Regions from separate parts of the Homo sapiens genome. Here region 2 is linked to region 1. Evidence: promoter capture Hi-C in 16 types of primary human blood cells and fetal thymus (Javierre and others, 2016). All regions are on one chromosome and are shown on one strand. The core of a region is centred on a gene start or on the middle of the fragment in contact, and the rest is flanking DNA. Distances in the headings are between cores, read along the strand shown. Region 1 holds the start of ZCCHC2 (zinc finger CCHC-type containing 2). Region 2 overlaps RELCH (RAB11 binding and LisH domain, coiled-coil and HEAT repeat containing).

What was found. Contacts are between HindIII fragments. The CHiCAGO score rates a contact against its expected background, and 5 or more counts as called.
Region 2: a fragment that was not itself captured here is called in contact with the fragment with the promoter of ZCCHC2 in region 1 in 2 of 17 cell types (M2 macrophages and M1 macrophages); the score reaches 5.6 in M2 macrophages.

Annotation. Positions count from the first base shown.
Region 1 is chr18:62,521,739-62,524,305 of GRCh38, reverse strand. ZCCHC2 (zinc finger CCHC-type containing 2) reads right to left here and starts at 1,281. Exons shown (of 14, transcript NM_017742.6): 1 at 1-1,281. The coding sequence starts at 881. RefSeq lists an enhancer at 1-572 and silencers at 888-1,387, 1,418-1,687, 1,918-2,027. The HindIII fragment of the contact is 5,111 bases long and covers 1-1,308 here.
Region 2 is chr18:62,280,216-62,282,782 of GRCh38, reverse strand. It overlaps RELCH (RAB11 binding and LisH domain, coiled-coil and HEAT repeat containing), which reads right to left. Exons shown (of 29, transcript NM_001346231.2): 24 at 2,074-2,137; 25 at 339-477. Among named protein-coding and RNA genes, the nearest start is that of TNFRSF11A, 44 kb to the left of the region's middle. The HindIII fragment of the contact is 695 bases long and covers 953-1,647 here.

The DNA of each region.
Region 1 (2,567 bases), core at 32-2,531:
CCCCCGCGGAGCGCGGCGCGGAGCCTCTCCAAGTGTTCCCTCAGGGTGACCCGCTGGTGGAAGGAGAAAGCCGGGTGCAGCGAGGCCATGGTGAAGAGCAGCAGCAGTTCCTCCTGGGCCCTGGAGCCAAGCCCGCCGCCGACCCGGGGCTCCACAATGCCGCCTTCCGGGCCTGAGCCGTCCTTCTCGGCGTCCTGCTCGCCGTCGCCGTCCTCGCCGCGCTCGTCCTCCGCGCCGCCCCGCGAGCCCTCGCCCCGGGCCGCGCGCAGGCTTTTGAGCACCGAGTCCACCTGGGGTAGCAGGCGGTGCAGACGGCCAGCGGCCTCCCGGTTCTCCGAGCCCAGCAGCGCCAGGTAGACGATGAGGCGCGAGCGCACCGCGGGCTCTCGGAAGTCGGCCAGCGGCCCCGGGTCCGAGAGGCCGTTGGCCTTGGCCTCCGAGTCGCGCAGGTAGTGGTAGTCCTTGCGCGCCAGGTCCTCCAGGCACGAGCCAAGGAAGCGCAGCTCCAGCGGGTTGCACAGGTCCAGCAGCCCGCACATGAACTCCAGGCGCTGCGCCGAGCCCAGCACCAGCCCGAACCACTCGTATACCCGCTCCTGCTCGCGCAGCGCCGCCGAGGGCCCCCCGCCGCCGCCCGGCATACCCGCCCCCGCCGCCGCTCCACCAGCAACAGGCGGCCCGAGTCCCCGGGGCGGCGGCGGCGGCGGCAGAGGGCCCCGCGACGGGCCCGCGGGCGGCGGCGGCGGCGGCGGGGGGCGGCAGTCGCGGCGGCGGCGCGAAGGCGCCTTCGCGCCCGGCCGCGCGTCCGCCTCGGGCTCCTCCGCCTCGGGCGGCGGCTCCGCGGGGTGCGTTGGCTTCAGCGGCAGCTTCATCCTCAGCATCCTCGGCTAGGGCGGCGCAGACATGCGAGCGGGGGCGGGCGGGAGGGGCCGCGAGGTGGAGCACGGGCCGAGGCGGCGGCGCGGCCGTCAGGAGCGGGGCCCCTCCATGCCGCCGGGGGAGGGCCGGGGCCGGGGGCGGGTCTCGGCCGGCGAGGGGGGCGGTGGCCGGCCGGCGGGGTCGCTGGCGTCGTCTTCCCGGGCTGGGGGCGGGGCGTGCCCGCGACGGCTCCTCCCCCTGGGCTCCTCGCCGGTTCTGGGAGCCCGGGTGCGGGTGGGAGCAAGCGAGCGAGGGTGTCCTCCTTCCGCCTCCCTCTCTCCGCCGTCCGCGCTGAGCCGGGGCGGCGGTGCCTGAGCTGTTCCCTCGCGAGCCGGTGAGGACGGAGCGGCTGGGTGAGGAGGTGGAGCAGCCGGGCCGGGCGGAGAAGCTTGCGGGCTCCGCGCACCTCACCTCCGCCAATCAGCACCGCGAATCGACGGTGACGTCGCTCTCCCCGCCCCCTGGGGGGCCGCCTTTCTCCAGGAAGCCACGCCCAACTGCTGGCCGGCCGCCTCCCTCTCGGCGGCTTCCGTGCGGTCCTAAAGGCTGGTGCTCGGCAGGAGGAGGACGCGGGCTGGGGCCGTGGGGCGGCGTGAGGGTAGCCCGGGAGCGGTGAGGAGCGTGCGAGGCCCACGTGAGCGGAGGGACGCGGCCGCTCTCACCTTTCCTGAGGGCCCTGGCCCGGCTTTGGACTCCTGATTCTCCTCTGCTTGCCAGCTGCCGCCCCGCCTCCGCCAGTGGTGCCCGGGCTGCCTGCGCGGCCGGAGTGAACGCGTCCCGGGAGCAGGGGTTTCTCCGAAGTGAGTGCGCCAGCCCCGGGACGAGCTCGTTCGAGTCCTCACCGCCCAGTGCACTTCCTGAAAGCCGGCGGTGGGCTGTCTCCCACCTTGTGAAACTTTGCCAGGTGTCGCTCACAGGGGACTGGGTCCGGACGCGGGTGGCGGCGCTGGTTTGCGGCCCCGGTTTGCGGCCCCGGCGCCGCGATCCCGGGCCGCGCCCACGCCCAGGCTGGAGGCACCGTGCGCAGGTGGGGACGCGCGGCCGGGAGGTGCGCAGCGGGACCCGGCCGGCCGAGGGTGAGCGCTGCTGGGGACGCTCCTAGTCTGTAACGCTCTGTGAAAATTATTTCCTGGATAGTTTAGGAAAAGCCTCTCCCTTCCCCGCCCCTAAACCTCTATCTTTTGGGAATCATTGATTTGCTAAATGACATTTCGGTGCCTAACCCATTTTGAATCCTTGTTCTGCTGTGAATTTCATGTGACTGGAGGAATTTAATAAGCTACCAACTTGACAGGCTTTAAACTTAAAAAAAAAAAGTTTTGTTACGTTTTTCAGATTTAGGCTTCCAAGATGTTTACACTCGCACTGTTACTTTTTTTTTTTTTTTTTTTTTTTTTTAGCAACATAGTCCAAATTTTTAAAACTCAGCTGGATCTTTTGAGGGTTAATTAAAAGGTGGGTTAAAAAAAATCTTAAGACTTTAAATTTAGAAGTCCTACTACAGCTATGTAGTAGGAGTATGCAGAAAGATAAGAATCACATTGTAACTCTTTGCGGTGGTGCTGGAACATCTGTTGGGAGAGCATATGCTGAACTCTGTTCACCTCACAAGTTTATGTCCTAAGAGGCTCATTCACAGTTCAGTAAAA
Region 2 (2,567 bases), core at 51-2,550, 240 kb after region 1:
GGGAGGCTGAGGCAGGAGAATCACTTGTACCCAGGAGGCAGAGGTTGCAGTGAGCTGAGATCATGCCATTGCACTCCAGCTTGGGTGACAGAGCGAGACTCTGTCTCAAAACAAAATAATACAAAACCATCCACTAATATCAATACTGATTAATTCACAATAACTAACTTGTTTCATGTTTAGCTTTCAGTACACAAGAGTACACAAGGCTTTCAGTACACAAGGCTTTAACACATGACAAATGCACCAAAATTTTAATACATGACAAGGCCTCAGAGGAGTGTCTAGCTTTGATCTTACATTACAATTCAGGAAAAAGGTAGAAAAATGCAACTTACACTCATCTCGGAACCTGGGTTCTGCGTTAGGGCCAACTCTACCAAATGTTTTTATGATCTCTGTATGCAAAGAATGTTGGTCTTGATACTGAGGATCTTCCAGGAAAGAAGCCAACTGCATTTTCACTCTTTCCAGCAACTTAAAATTGGATATTGTACAGTCATTTCATAGAATATTGAAAACTGAGTAGTGTTGTTAAAGTGAAAGACACACATTAAACATGACTTAAAGCAGTGGATTAAAGCAACCTATAGTCCAATGACAGTAGAAATTTGGAATTAAATAAATAGTTATTTAATCTTTTGGCTCAGAGAAGGTTTCCTACTTTTGCTTATGCTTACAAATTCTTAATTAAAAAATACAAATATTCCTGAACAAATTATAACAACAAAAGAAAAAAAATCCCACCGTATTTAGGGAAAAGTAGGTAACTTTATGATTATTTTGTATCTAAATTATAATTCTTAAAACAAATCACACTGTAAGTTACCCAATTATTCACCTTCTGAAAGCAATGAGTCATTAATGACTTACATCTTACTCACATTTCCCTAAAAGACATTTTTATTTTAGGTTTTGAGAACATGTTGAAATTCTGCCAAGACTGCAAGCTTTGCAGAATGATGTGCTTTTCCTCTGTGGCTTCACCAGTGAAATATATAAGTGAAAAAATGGAAAATATTCTTTCTGTAACTAACAAAACTTTAGTTTTTGTCATGAAAAATCTATATGACAAAGGAGTTTTATTAAAACTTTTTTCTTTTGGGTAATATGTCCACAAATAATATATGTGCTAATCTACAGGGTTTTTTCATTTGTATAAGGACATATCCAATATAATAACAAAGAAATAAAAATCTGATATCAATTTTGAGAAGTGTCTTATAGTTAGTGTTGCAAATAGAATCTAAAAAACTTGAAATTAGTTTCAGAATTAAAATACACCTTTAAGAAGGAAGACCTTGGTGGTCTCCTGAAACAGGCATGACAGAGGGTCTGCCCAGAGATCTACTCTGCAACAAGAGGATACCAGTCTACTAAATCACTTTTACAGCTTCATACCAATGACACAGTTATCAGAATACAAGTGCCCTCTTGCCTTCATTTATAACTGAGATACATTTGTGTTCCTAATGATGTTATCTGGGAAAACAGTCCTCAAATCTGTGCAACACTGGCAATCAAGAATTTATGTAGATTGGCCAGAAGCCTACCGGGTAATAGAAGGCTTTGGAACTAGACCTGATTTGAAGGATTATTCAAAACTGCAACATCCAGCTCAGCTTACAATAGAACATCTAGCAAGCTTGTCCAATACACCTTATTTTGTTGTTGTTCTGTTTTGTTTTGTTTAAGGCTTTTAGCAGCCTGAAGCCGGGGTTTTTAGTTTCTGTCTCTAGTGATAAGTAGAAAAGAGGGAAGAGGAAGGGGCTTTACTGGCCCAATCAGAAAGAGAAACTAAGAACCCATGACTATATTCTCTCCCTTGGACATCCCTGAAAGCTTGGCCTATACTTAATGTTCTGACTGAGAGGAAAGACTAGAGATTTCCTTAGGATATGGAAATATACCTTGGTTAGGCTACCATGTTTTCACAGTGAGATCCTCCTCTGGCCTGTAACTAACTAGGGCACAAAATAAAAGGTAAGATGCTCCCTGCAGCCTACCACCAGATACATGTATCATGACCACATCAATATTACACAGACATAAATAAATTTCAATTATTCCTACCTCTCTTTGAATTACTGTTTCCATAATAGTGCCAAAGGCTGGAATTGTGGCAATCCTGACAGAGCTGTTAGAATTAAAACAGAAAGAAACTGAAGATTTGAGATGAACAACGAGTATTATTAAAATGTATATTAAAGTAAGTACAAGGTAAATATACTGTATTAGTCTCTAGCAATGACAAATTAAATAAATTTAAAAAAAGCAGACCAAGAAGAATGCTCAAAAAGACAGACAGGATAACTTAAGGTCGCAGTCTGTGAAACTCACAATTCAGGATCACTGGACAAGGTAACAAGGGCCGGAGCAACCCGCTTGTCAACTAACGCTTCACTCATGCCTCGAAGAGTCAGCTGTAAACCAGTCAACATGCAATAAAAAATGGTTTGGTAAACTGGAATAAGAACTGGGTTAGCTGTGACTGAGGATGGGCAGGCAGACTCATTGGCCTTTCTTGGTTTAGTCATCCACACGAGACATTAAAATGTTAGGCCATT